2 separate regions of the Homo sapiens genome follow, and region 1 is linked to region 2. Evidence: promoter capture Hi-C in human tissues and cell types (Jung and others, 2019). All regions are on one chromosome and are shown on one strand. The core of a region is centred on a gene start or on the middle of the fragment in contact, and the rest is flanking DNA. Distances in the headings are between cores, read along the strand shown. Region 1 overlaps HMCES (5-hydroxymethylcytosine binding, ES cell specific). Region 2 holds the start of PLXND1 (plexin D1).

Region 1 (6,822 bases), core at 551-3,050, 310 kb after region 2:
AAGTTAAGGTTCATGGTAGGAATGCTCTCAAATCCTCCTGAAGGAGACTAAGGACTGGAGCTCCTGCAACTTGTAGTTCGGAAAGCAAAGATACAGAAAAGAGACACCAAAAATCATGGTTGGGGACGGAGAAACAATATGGTCAAGGGCTCCTTTGTCTTTTTCACCATCACTGTCTAGATTAGGAGTCCTCAAATGTGGTTTATCAGACTCATCAAAGAAGCTTTTTTTTTTTTCCTTTTTGTGGAGAACGGGGTCTCACTATATTGCCCAGGCAGGTCTGGAACTCCTCAGGTAAAGCTACCCTCCCACCTCTGCCTTCTAAGTGCTGGCATTACAGGCATGAGCCACTGCACCCAGCTGAAGCTTCTTTTTTTTGAAACGCAGTCTCGCCCTGTCACCAAGCTGGAGTGCAGTGGCCCAATCTAGGCTCACTGCAACCTCCACCTCCCAGGTTCAAGTGATTCTCCTGCCTCAGCCTCCCAAGTAGCTGGGATCACTACTTGGGACGGGCCACCACACCCAGCTAATTTTTGTATTTTTAGTAGAGACGGGGTTTCACCATATTGGCCAGGATGGTCTCGATCTGTTGACCTCGTGATCCACTTGCCTCGGCCTCCCAAAGTGCTGGGATTACAGGCGTGAGCCACTGCGCCCAGCCTGAAGCTTCTTAATTATACAAAAGTCCAAGCCTAGCTCTAAATGTTGATTCAGGATGTCTAGATAGGGTCTAGCATTTACATTTTGAAAGAGTTCTTCTCCTGGGGACTCTGAGTCACAGCCAGGTTTGAGAATTGCTGCTCTACACTACCTTGCTGTGTACAAGGAGTATGAGAGCTTTTGATGGTCCAAATTAAAGGGCTGATCATAAAAGGCCACATCCTGAAAGAAAGAGAACACTGACAGAAGACAGAAAGCTCAAAAAGGACTGTACCAGTCACAGGCCCCTACCTTTTTGACCACCAAGTCGACAGGAGCCAGACACTCAGGAGTGTTGTTTCGCGAGTTGTTCACCACAGAAGAGACTGCATGGAAGGTGATGTTCTCTGTTGGGTGGATTAATTTCAGAGCTTCCTGAGTTGAGACTTCACCAAAGTCAAGCCATTTAGAAACTGCCTCCTCTCCATCTAATATGGCAGGCATCCTGGCCAGGGAAGTTAAGACAATGGTTGGGAGAGGTAGCATGAGAATAAGGAGAGAAGGGAGAGAGACTTGAGTCAGCTGATACCTCAAATATCACAAGGGGAGCTTGCCCTCCCTCTGCGCCTCACATGCTGATTGCTGCCATGTGTTCCCTGAGCACAGGGTGACAGGGCACCAGATTCAACACCTGGAGAGCCATGTTATAAAGTTTCATGGCAAAGACAGTGAAGAGTACTAACTGGTCTAGTGTACTCCAGTGTCCACTCTAGTAAATTGGTAAACTTTCTATGACACCCCAGCCTAGAATGAAGGGAAAATAGATCTTGAAAACTTGTCTATCAACAGCAATCTCAAGCCTCACCACCTCTGAAAGACTTACAGTAAGAAAATTGTGAACAAAAGGAAGCCATGCGTCAGAAAAGCAGAGAAGCTGTCAAACATGACTCCTGGTACCCAGAGGATGTAAGGAAAATATACTAGGTTTAGCTTCCAGTTTTATGTCCCAGGCCAATGCAGTGTGGCACACACTTTTTGGGTGGTACAGTTGATTCAGATACAGACAAATGTTCATTTGTCTCCTAAATATATACATAACATATAAAATAATGTTAAATACTGTAATGTATAAAATAATGGTACATTTTTAAATGAATGGTGATTTAGATTAAATGAAATATAATTTTTAAAGGTTAATTACTAAAAGAGAACTACATCACATGAAAGCATATTTTTTTTTTTTTCTTCTTTTTTTTTTTTTTTGAGACAGAGTCTTGCTGTGTTGCCCAGGCTGGAGTGCAGTGGCGTGATCTCCACTCACTGCAAGCTCCACCCCCCGGGTTCATGCCATTCTTCTGCCTCAGCCTCCTGAGTAGCTGGGACTACAGGCACCCACCACCATGCCCGGCTAATTTTTTTTTTTTGAGATGGAGTCTCACTGTGTTGCCCAGGCTGGAGTTCAATGGCATGATCTCGGCTCATTGCAAGCTCCACCTCCCGGGTTCACGCCATTCTCCTGCCTCAGCCTCCCAAGTAGCTGGGACTACAGGCAGCCGCCACCACGTCTGGCTAATTTTTTGTATTTTTTAGTAGAGACAGAGTTTCACCGTGTTAGCCAGGATGGTCTCGATCTCCTGACCTCATGATCCACCCGCCTCAGCCTCCCAAAGTGCTGGGATTACAGGTGTGAGCCACCGCGCCTGGCCATTTTTTTGTATTTTTAGTAGAGATGGGGTTTCACAGTGTTCGCCAGGATGGTCTTGATCTCCTGAACTCGTGATCCACCCACCTCGGCGTCCCAAAGTGCTGGGATTACAGGTGTGAGCCACTGCGCCTGGCCACATGAAAGCATATTTTCACAGATATAGCCTAGGACAAGGCTAAAGCAGGTAATCCTGACAGGTGTCACACTGCATTCTTTTCAGGAGAACTCCAAAAAATCACTTCAGGGAGTACTCAGCTCTGGCAGAAAGTATAAAGGTAGAATACAAGTATAGTCAGTTCTGCCAATGCTTATGTTTAAAATGCAAATCTGTTCCAATGCCACTGATACAGTAGAGAGCAATTGGAGCACAATGCAAATTTTGTGTTTGCTTATGCACAGTTTCATCTGTGAGAAACACAAGGTGAACACAGAAAACTGCACCCAGATGAACTGAGCCACAAAATGCACCCATCTCAAACACTGACTGCTACTTTGGCTCACTGCATACTATTTTACAAAATTGTGTTTTGCTCTTCTTTTGCCTTTCTGAACTTTTCTATATATATATATATATATATATATAAAGATGCACATTTAACATCTCAAACATGTCTAAGCTTCCTGGCTCAAAACATGGTAGGCAATGCATGTGAATGGAGACATTTTAAATATTGAAAAGAAGCTTGAAATAGTAAAAGATCCTGGAAGAAAAATGAGAACATGTGATTATTTCCTGAGCAAAGGATATCAAGGAGTCCACATCAGTGATGATGCTACAAAAAAAAAATGACCATGGCTGGAACAACTTCAAGAAGTACTCCAGCCAGGCGCGGTGGCTCACACCTGTAATCCCAGCACTTTGGGAGGCCGAGGCAGGTGGATCACAAGGTCAGGAGATCTAGACCATCCTGGGTAACATGGCGAAACCCTGTTAGCCAGGCGTGGCGGCGTGTGCCTGTAGTCCCAGCTACTCGGGAGGCTGAGGCAGGAGAATGGTGTGAACCCAGGAGGCAGAGCTTGCAGTGAGCCGAGATCGCACCACTGCACTCCAGCCTGGGCGACAGAGTGAGACTCTGTCTCAAAAAAAAAAAAAAAAAAAAAGAAGCACCTATAAGGTTCATACAAAAAATATATAAATAAGGCCTATATATAAATAAAATCTTAAATACCACAAGTGGCTCCTTTTAGTGCTAGTAGTGGTTAGTTTACTGGTTTCGAACATGGCGACAATTTTCAAAGCTTTCTGCTATTGGGAGAAGCCACAAGTACAGATGAAAATGCGCTAAAGAATTTCTAGCAGTGATACAGAAGTTAATTGGAGGAGAAGGCTATACATTGAATCAAATATTCAATTTTAATTAAATAGCATCTATTACAAATGCATGCCTCAAAGGAAATACGTTCATAGGAGGAAAACTGTGCCCCAGGATTTAAGACTGCAAAAGATAAAAAATTTTACATAACCTTCCTTCCACAACTTCACAATAACTCATGAGATGCATTTCTTCCAACACTCACTTCCACAAGCAACAAGCAAACTTCAGGTCTTGTCGAGGTAAAGTGCCATATTTATTGTAGTATGTATGTATGTATGTATTTATTGAGATGGAATCTCACTCTGTCACCCAGGCTGGGGTGCAGTGGCACGATCTTGGCTCACTGCAAGCTCCACCTCCCGGGGTCACACCATTCTCTTGCCTCAGCCTCCCATGTAGCTGGGACTACAGGAGCCCGCCACCATGCCCGGCTAATTTAGTTGTTGTATTTTTAGTAGAGACGGGGTTTCACCGTGTTAGCCAGGATGGTCTCGATCTCCTGACCTCGTGATCCACCCACCTCAGCATCCCAAAGTGCTGGGATTACAGGCGTGAGCCACCGTGCTCAGCCTGTAGTATTTATTTATTTCTTAACCACCTAACATGTATAAAACAGTGCTACTGTTTTATTAGGTTTCCATTATTTTTTTAATGTGTCACTGACAACATTTTAAGTGTTGTCTCCTTAACCCCACTTTTCCCCTAAGTTATTTGGTTTTTATTCTATCGTTTTGCATAGTACAGTGATTTTTAGGAATGTATGTCATGTTAGAGTCAAACTGATTGTAACTTTACGTTGTAAAATGACTTGGTTTCCTACTCTCTAAAGCTACCTAAAAGCAGAGGACAAATCATCTTTTGGATCCTTTTGGATCCAGGGCTAAGAAGTATGACTTGCCTGTGGTGGATGTCACTCAAGCCTTTGCAGGAATCCACTGTGATGATGGTATAGGAATACAGGACATCTCCTCCCTCTGGGGGCTCCCAGCAGTCAAAGATCCCGGCCATTGTCAGCAGCCTCCAGTTGTCCCAGACTTTCTCCCAGTTCTCAGGACTATCTGCAGCACCAATGCTACCTGACTGGAAGCAAAATATATGGGCAGATTAGATGCACTCAGCAGACTTCTTCTACATGCAGGTTAGGTACTACTTCAGACTCGAGAGCACGGAAATCATTTTAAAAGTAATTCAGCCCACGTCTTATTAACCCCTCTGTCACCAAAGGAAAGAAGGTTGGTGGCAAATGCCAACTGAAGCTATAGATTCATGGCTCCTTAATACTTTCAGAATTTAACACCTTCACTGGACATTTAGGCCTTCCGTGAACTGGCCCACCATTCTAGCTATTACTTACATTGTTAATTTGAACCCAAACCAGCTGTTGGTAAATGAAGCTCTCATGCAATTTCATGCTCCTGTGTCTTGCTGAAGCAACCTTCCTCTGCCCAAAATGTCCTTCCCACCCTTTCTTAATTGAATTGAATTTCATGCCAATTCCTAATTGCCATTCAAAATTCAATTCAAGGACTAAAATGTAGAAAGCTGGAAAGAACGTCACTTCTATTCTAACAATAAGAAAAAAGCTGGATAATATGCAAAATTATAACTTTTCTTAAACTCATCAGAGAGGTAAGTCGATCAATTTCCCTGAAATTTAAGAAAAGACAAGGTCCTCCAAGGGGCAATGGGACACAAGTACTGGCTTATTGGCAGCATCAGGAGGGAGACACAAGCCTTCATACAACCAGGTTAAGAATTCAGATAATGTTATTATCACATTTCTACAAGCAGCGTACAGGCTAGCAGGATAGTACAGAATCCCTAGGAGCTGCAAACCTCAGAGGAGTTTGCACCAGCTCACAGGCTTTTCTCCTTGGACTTTGCCAGTGCTCGAAAAAGACGGCACAGGGCAGGAGCCTGGAGGAAGCCATCCTCACTGTTGAATACCTTAAAGGCAAGCTCCTCTGCCTCACCTAATCACTTTTCCCCTAAGGAGCAAAAGTCTTAAGCTGCCAGGGAAACGGTAATAATAATAATCCCTGTCACGCCTAGGAATCAGGTAAAGACCCACAGAGGCTGGGGAAGGAGAAAAAGAAAAAGCCCCCTACGCCCTGGGGAAGACTGAGTCAGAGAGCCACATCTGCTTAAGATAGACTGAACGGAGAACTGCCTCCACCCGTTTAGCCGACAAACATTAAGTGACAAGCAGAAGCAGTCTACTTCTGGAAGAGGGAAAAGGGCACAAGAAAGACCATGTCTAAGGCACAGGCTCACAGGAAAATCCAACAACTGAAGAGAGGAGGGCTGCTGAGAAACCCTCTGGAAAGTCAATCCTTACCCTAAACACTGGATAACACCAGAGCACTTGAAAGCCTGTGTCAAACAAAGGCACTGTAGCCTGGTCGTGGTGGCTCATGCCTGTCATCCCAGCACTTTGGGAGGCCGAGGCAGGCGGATCACGAGGTCAGGAGATCGAGACCATCCTGGCTAACACGGTGAAACCCCGTCTCTACTAAAAATACAAAAAATTAGCTGGGCCTGGTGACGGGCGCCTGTAGTCCCAGCTACTCGGGAGGCTGAGGCGGAGCTTGCAGTGAGCCGAGATCGCACCACTGCACTCCAGCCTGGGCAACAGAGGGAGACTCTGTCTCAAAAACAAAAACAAAAACAAAACAAAGGCACTGTAATGAGAACAAAGCCCAAACCCAGTTCAATTCCTGACAAGACTGACTTAACCCCATATATTAATGGCCTAATAGAAGAATTTCCAGACATAAATATTATTAATCTCAGTCTCTGTCCTACATATCATCTCTGGCAACAATAAAAAATTACAAGACACACAAAAAAAGCTAAAGCAATCAACCACCAAGAGATATAGAAATTAACAGAACCAGATTCAAGAGATTATATTTCCCAGATGCTGAAATTATCAGAGAACTTGAAGTAAGTAAAATTAATGTCAAAGACTCTTGTGGAAAATGTGGACAACATATATGAACAGATAAGGAACGTTAGCAGAGAGACAGAAACTATAAGAAAGACTCAGTGAACTTAAAGATAGGTCAATAATGGCCAGGCGCAGAGGCTCATGCCTGTAATCCCAATACTCTGGGAGGCCAAGGCAGGCAGATCACTTGAGGTCAGGCGTTCAAGACCCAC
Region 2 (7,182 bases), core at 1,042-3,541:
AGCTTGGCAGGGAGCTTGTGTCCCAAGTGCCCAGGATCATCACCACAGGCTGGTCTAAGACAACACTGAGCATTATCCTCACGGCTCAGTGGGGGGAGCTGCAGGATGCAGCAAGATGAACCAGATGAGCGGGAGACAGGAAGGAAGAGAGGAGGGGCTGGAGAGGGAGTGGGGGTGAGGGATAGGGAGGGAGACAGAGAGAGAGACAGAGATAGAGACACAGAGAGACAGATGAAGAGTGGAAAGGGAAGGGGGCAAGACACTGAGAGAAGGAGAGACAAAGAGAGTGAACGGGAGGAGCAAGACAGATAGGAACAGAGATGGGTGGGGGCAGGAGAGAGAGAGATAAGACAGAGAGACCAGCGGATGGACTGGGGTGGGGGCACTGAGGATGTGAGTGAGGAGGAGGGGCATGGAGGCAGGCCCCATGCACCCCTGCTGGGCTCTGCAGTTGGCCCCCACGGGTGGCACGATGTGCGCCTTCTCCATCCAGAGAGGAAGACAGGGACACAGTCCCACGGGCAGTCCCCTGAGTGGCTCTTGGTGGGTGGATGGGCCTGGGAGGGGGCCTCCAATTTCCTGCAGCTCAACACTCCCGGCCATCAAAGCAGTGGCCAGACCAGGGCTGAGGGGTCTGGAACAAGGCGGGCAGGATGGCAGGAAGGCGAGGGTGTTGAGGGAAGTGGGGGGCGGCTGCAGGCCCAGCCTTTCCTGCCGGCCCCATGGTGCACAGACACCCCTGCCCTTCCTTCCTGGTTGGGTGGGAAAGAGGAAAATGAGGTCCCGCTACTCTCAGAGTGAGGCCCACCGGGCACCCTGTGGAAGCTGGGGGTCTGATGGGAGGCCCCGTTCTGAGAGGTCGGAGCTGAAGGGCTTTTGCTTTCAAACACTGTAGCTCTGCTCCTCATGAGCTGTGCATCTTGGGCCAGTCCCTTCCCCTCAGCCTTGGTTTCCATATCTGGAAGATGGGTTACCAATAGCGCTCGCCTCGGGGGAATCTGTGAGGAAAAAGAGAGCCCGTACATGGCAAGTGCTTGGCACAGTGTCTGGCACGGGCTAGCCCTGTGTGAGCACCCCCGCAAAACAGCCACGGCGCATGGTCCTCACAGGGCTGTGACCTTGGAACCAGGCTGCCTGCCCCTAACGCTGCTTTTGAGATCAAGAACCCTGCCCAGTGCCGGCTTTTGTGGGACTAATCTTCCACTAAGCCTGGGAGGATGTCAGGGAAAGTGCCTGGCGGGGGTGCCAGGGGTGGGGGTGCGGCTGGGTCTCCACAGGAGGCAACTGTGGGCTCCAGGACCAAGGCCTTGCTCTGGCTATCGGTTGTGGGCCACTGGCTGGAACTATTTCCTCTCTCCATGTTTTCCTCATTTATATATCTGACCCTGAGCACTGGTCCCTCTGGCCCTGCCACTTGTAAATCCCTTTTATGGGTCTGGGGTTTGGGGGACAGATTATGGGGTCTGGGGGGCCCGACTGGCCGGCACCGGGGGAGCGAAGGCCTGGACAGTGCCTGAGAAAGGTGGTGGAGGGAGGCTGAGTGTGGAGGGGAGACACAGGGTTCGGGAAGGCAGAGGGAGAAGGAAAGGGGAGCTCAGAGGGACCGAGAGAGGGACGGAGGGTCCGAGGGGGAGGCAGAGGGAGCCACGGAGAGAGGGAGCGAGCGTCAGGGACGGAAAAACGGAGCAGGAGAGAGAAGGAGACTAGAAAGGGCCGGGGGCGGGGCTGCCAGGGACTGGAGAGCGAAGCGGAGTCGGAGGGAGAAGGAGAAGCAGAGGCAGAACCCGGAGAAGCGCCACACGCGCGGAGTTTGGGGTGGGGACAGAGACGGAGAGACGCAGAGACCGAGAGACGCAGAGAGAGGGAGAGACGGGGTGGGGGAGAGGGCGGAAAAGAGAAAACAGGCGCGAGCGAGGCAGGCCAAGCGGCCAAGTGGGAGGAAAGAGCGAGGAGAGCGAGCGACGGCGGCGGCGGCTACGGGGAGGGACCCTGGGGCCGCGGGCGGGTCCTGGAGGGCGCGGGCGGCGGGACCCGCGGACGGCGGGGCGTGGCCCAGGGCGGCCAGGGGCAGGCGGGGGTCCCGGGGGCGGGCGGGGCCGGGGCGGGGAGTGAGGGCGTGTCCGCAGCGGAGCCGCCCCCGCCCCGCCCCCGGGCTGCGCGGCGAGGCTGACCCGGGCCCGGGCGCCGGGGTCGGGGGCGGCTGGCGCGGGCAGGAAGCGCATCGCGGCCCGGGCCCGCCCCCCGCCTCCCGCCGCCTCCGGGCTCCCGGCTCCCGGCCGCGCCTCGCCCCATGCACTCGCCGCGCCGCGCAGCCCGCGCACGCCCGGATGGCTCCTCGCGCCGCGGGCGGCGCACCCCTTAGCGCCCGGGCCGCCGCCGCCAGCCCCCCGCCGTTCCAGACGCCGCCGCGGTGCCCGGTGCCGCTGCTGTTGCTGCTGCTCCTGGGGGCGGCGCGGGCCGGCGCCCTGGAGATCCAGCGTCGGTTCCCCTCGCCCACGCCCACCAACAACTTCGCCCTGGACGGCGCGGCGGGGACCGTGTACCTGGCGGCCGTCAACCGCCTCTATCAGCTGTCGGGCGCCAACCTGAGCCTGGAGGCCGAGGCGGCCGTGGGCCCGGTGCCCGACAGCCCGCTGTGTCACGCTCCGCAGCTGCCGCAGGCCTCGTGCGAGCACCCGCGGCGCCTCACGGACAACTACAACAAGATCCTGCAGCTGGACCCCGGCCAGGGCCTGGTAGTCGTGTGCGGGTCCATCTACCAGGGCTTCTGCCAGCTGCGGCGCCGGGGCAACATCTCGGCCGTGGCCGTGCGCTTCCCGCCCGCCGCGCCGCCCGCCGAGCCCGTCACGGTGTTCCCCAGCATGCTGAACGTGGCGGCCAACCACCCGAACGCGTCCACCGTGGGGCTAGTTCTGCCTCCCGCCGCGGGCGCGGGGGGCAGCCGCCTGCTCGTGGGCGCCACGTACACCGGTTACGGCAGCTCCTTCTTCCCGCGCAACCGCAGCCTGGAGGACCACCGCTTCGAGAACACGCCCGAGATCGCCATCCGCTCCCTGGACACGCGCGGCGACCTGGCCAAGCTCTTCACCTTCGACCTCAACCCCTCCGACGACAACATCCTCAAGATCAAGCAGGGCGCCAAGGAGCAGCACAAGCTGGGCTTCGTGAGCGCCTTCCTGCACCCGTCCGACCCGCCGCCGGGTGCACAGTCCTACGCGTACCTGGCGCTCAACAGCGAGGCGCGCGCGGGCGACAAGGAGAGCCAGGCGCGGAGCCTGCTGGCGCGCATCTGCCTGCCCCACGGCGCCGGCGGCGACGCCAAGAAGCTCACCGAGTCCTACATCCAGTTGGGCTTGCAGTGCGCGGGCGGCGCGGGCCGCGGCGACCTCTACAGCCGCCTGGTGTCGGTCTTCCCAGCCCGGGAGCGGCTCTTTGCTGTCTTCGAGCGGCCCCAGGGGTCCCCCGCGGCCCGCGCTGCTCCGGCCGCACTCTGCGCCTTCCGCTTCGCCGACGTGCGAGCCGCCATCCGAGCTGCGCGCACCGCCTGCTTCGTGGAACCGGCGCCCGACGTGGTGGCGGTGCTCGACAGCGTGGTGCAGGGCACGGGACCGGCCTGTGAGCGCAAGCTCAACATCCAGGTACACCCGGGCGGTGGCGGCGGCGGCGGCGGCGGCGGCGGCGGGGGCGGGGGCGGGGGCGGGCGGGAACCGAGCGGGTCGTGAGCTGAGTGGGTCACAGGTGGGAGCGCGCAGAGATCCAGATGTACGTGGAACCCAGGTGTGCACGCGAGAATACAGGTGTCCCCCGAGGGGTACTACTGGCGCCTGTATGGCCCAGGTGGGCATGTGCAGGGACTCAAGTGAGTGCCGGCTCATGGGCGCGCATACCTAGGCGTACTGGGAGGGGTCCAAGTTGCCACAGGTACCCAGGTGCGCATAAAGCCCAGGTATGCACGTGAGGGTCACAGGTGCATGCTGAGGGCGCAGTAAGTGACTGCATGCCTGACCAAAGTTGTGTTCTGGGGCCACTGCGTGAGCCTGTCAGAGTTACCATTGCACGTTGGTGATGGGTGCATGGGTGTGGCAGGTGTGCAAGGAGGCACACAGGTGTGCACCAGGGCCCTGCAGATGTCTGCATGGACTTGTGTGCCAGCAAGCTGGGGCCTGAAGACGCACAGGGCAGACAGGTGTACTGCACAGACACTGGTACAACGGGACAGGGCTAGGTGTGCAGTGGGATGTGCGTGGCAGGGGACGCAGGTATTTGGGCATGAGTCGGTACTCTGAGGAGGCTGCATGGTTGGCAAACAGGTGTGTGCCTGAGGCCAACTTTTATTCACCTATTCTGCAAATATTTCCTGAGCACCTAGTATGTACCAGGTGTGGGAGTCTGGGGTAAACAATAGCACTTGTGGAGTGCCAGCTAGGGGCATCACATGTCACAATTCCCAGTTCTCAGAACAACCCTCTCAGGTAGCCTCTATTCTCATCACATTTTACAGATGAAGAAACAGGCACAGAGAGGTTAAGCAACTTGCTGAGGATCACACAGTTGGGCACTAGCAGAGGTGGATTTGAATCCAGCCTGTCTGGCCTCAGCATCTGTGTTTTTAATGCCCAGCCTTTGCTGCCTTCTGGACTTGGATCTCAGAGTGCGTGTGTTTTGGGGGCGTCCCAGGCAGCTGGGGTGGGCAGATGCCAGGGCCAGGAGAATGGAGGGATGTGAACAGGGGTGTTTTGGGGGCAGGAGAGGGCCGTGGGGCTCAGTGGGGAATGAGGAGGAGTACAGGCAGGCATGGGGCCCAGGTGTCTGAGGCTGGGTTGGGCAGTAGCAAGGGGGGCCAGGTTGACGGAATCAGCATGTGTGTTGACATGACAAGGGTGCGGGAGGGGACTTGGTGTGGTTCCCTGAAAGGAAGTTCATGGCAAGGGATTGCTCCTCACACTGGCTTTGGGAGCTGGGTCTGTTGATCCCCATAGTTCACCCTGAGGAATGAGGCCCCAGAATGACACTGGGGCCTTTCCCACACCCTCCACCCATCTGAGTCTGGCGAGCCCACTTCAGCTCCACTGCCTGCCATTCCCTTAGGAAGCTGCATCTCCATCAGCAAAATGCAGAACTCAGCCTTCTTGTGGTGACCCAAGCCTTCCTTGGGGCCCCACCCTGTCCCTTCTCCATGGCTGTGACAAGAATTTCATGAGATTAACCATTCCTCTGTGGGCGGGCCCAACACTGGGGCTTTGAGAAAATGCAGATTCCTTCTCCCAAGGTCGAGGTCGGTCTCCCACGACTGCCCACCATCTGGCCGGCCACCCTGAAAGTAAAGGTCACGGTGGGTGAGCAGGGCAGACAGTCCAAAGGGTGGTGGGGCTGCTTGCCCTGTGCCATGGTTGGTTCATCCACCATCTCCACCCCAGAGCTTCATCTCGCAGGCAACTGTGTTTGGCACTGGGGGTCTCAGTGGGGAGTCGCTGAATGGAGAGAAGTGTCCTGTGGACTGAGGGCCTTCCTCCAGTAGTTTCAGGCCCTGTGTCTCGGCCCTTTGGTGTAAGCTGATCTGTGGGATTCCTTAGGCCAGCCCAGGGTTCCCTCCCCCTCTGGCAAGAACCATTCTGGTTCCCACGGTCCGCTCCCTCGGTGCAGTGACTCACCCAGCTGAGGGGGGCTGGAGCTTCTCTACCTAAGGGGACAGGGCCTCTCCAGGGACACAGCCCCAGGACAGAGTGGCGAAGGGCCTCTTCCCCACCCCAAGGCCACAGATTCCGGCTGCGGCCTTCCTTGGTCACCCTCCCTGTGTTTTCCACACCCTTCTCCTCTTCGCCGTGCCCGCTGTGGGCACAGGCCAGTGCCACTTGGCAGTATCTCCCAGAGGTGCTCAAGGTCCCCGGTCTGGGCCTCTAGCATGGGCAGGGGTGGGGGAGGGATCATTATTCTTGCTCCAGGCTGTTGCCAGCTATGCAGCGACAGATTCAGAACCTAGACTTTGCATCAGGCTGCTTGGGTTCAAGTCCCACTTTGTCACTTCCCAGCTGTGTGACCTTGGCCAAGGAACTTAACCTCTCTGGGCCTCAGTTTCTTCATCTGTGAAGTGGGGACAGTAAAAGCAATCCTTATCCCAAAGCATTGTTTTAAGGACTAGATGAATCGATAAATGCAGCTCAGTGTACCCAGTACACAGTAAGCACCAAGCAGATGGCAGTTCTTCTTGTTATTACTCTAAGGGACATTATTAGCACAGGTCTCTGCTTGGTCCTGGAGAGCAGTTGCCTAATCTGGCTTGTTCTGCAGCTGTAAACACCCCACCATCTCCTACTTCTAGCCCCAGATGACACCTCCATAGACATTTACTAAGTCCCTATTGTGAGCCCAGTCCCATGCTGTGCCCTGGGGAGCCAATGGCAACTCACTTTGTTTCTACTCTTGTGGGCTGGGCAGGTGAGCCGAGGACGGATGTGTGACCAGGCCCTTATACACAGGGCAATGCGTGCCGCAAAGGGAGAATGAGGGTGGAGGGAGCCCAGCGGAGGGGGCGGAGGAGCAGGAGGAAGCCAGGTGAGGCCGGAGAAGAGGAAAGGCATCCAGGCAAAGGGAGCAGCCTGTGCGAAGGCTGTGAGCAGGCTCGAGGGGGTCTGCGTGGCCAGGCGAGTAGAGTGGGAAGCACATGACACAAGGGCCAGGGAGGCCTGGGGAGACCGTCCTTGGGAGTCTGGACTTTATCCTGGGGTCCTGGGAGCCATGAAGGGTTTTAGCCAGAGAAGTGGAGTGGTCTCAGCAGGCACCTGAGTCTCCCCGCTGCAGAAGGGGAATGCTCGTGAATACCTGCCTCTTAGGGCTGTTGGGGGTATTAAATGAGATCATTTATGTACCTGGCGCCTGTTTGCAATGACTACAATTCTTCTACCTATTATTTTAGAAAGCCCCTAGGTAGCTGGTGAGAAGGAGCAATGGAGGAGGGAGAGTGGCTGAGAGGCTGAGGCCGCCTCCCGGGAATAGATTCCTTCACTCAGTCGCAAATATATCTTGAGCACTTACTGTGTGCCAGGCTCTGTGGTGGGTGCCAGATGGCAGTGGGGAGATGGGGCCGGCCTTGTTCTCTGGAGACATGGCTGGCCTGGTCTGCAGCAGTGCTGAGGGCTTGGAGGGTGGCAGGTGGGCTCTGGACAGATTTGGGGGCTGGGATGC

What was found. The method cuts DNA at HindIII sites, captures the fragments that hold promoters and counts their contacts. A contact is called where the count stands out against the background at its distance.
Region 1: a contact is called between a fragment that was not itself captured here and the fragment with the promoter of PLXND1 in region 2, in 1 of the 25 tissues and cell types used here (adrenal gland).

The regions. Positions count from the first base shown.
Region 1 is chr3:129,296,272-129,303,093 of GRCh38, reverse strand. It overlaps HMCES (5-hydroxymethylcytosine binding, ES cell specific), which reads right to left. Exons shown (of 7, transcript NM_020187.3): 5 at 4,559-4,740; 6 at 952-1,144. Among named protein-coding and RNA genes, the nearest start is that of H1-10-AS1, 17 kb to the left of the region's middle. The HindIII fragment of the contact is 3,010 bases long and covers 296-3,305 here.
Region 2 is chr3:129,601,785-129,608,966 of GRCh38, reverse strand. It overlaps PLXND1 (plexin D1), which reads left to right and starts at 2,291. Exons shown (of 36, transcript NM_015103.3): 1 at 2,291-3,638. The coding sequence starts at 2,328. RefSeq lists enhancers at 79-1,069, 1,070-2,062, 3,055-4,047, 5,040-6,032 and silencers at 1,963-2,122, 2,273-2,332, 5,467-5,761. The HindIII fragment of the contact is 25,180 bases long and covers 1-7,182 here.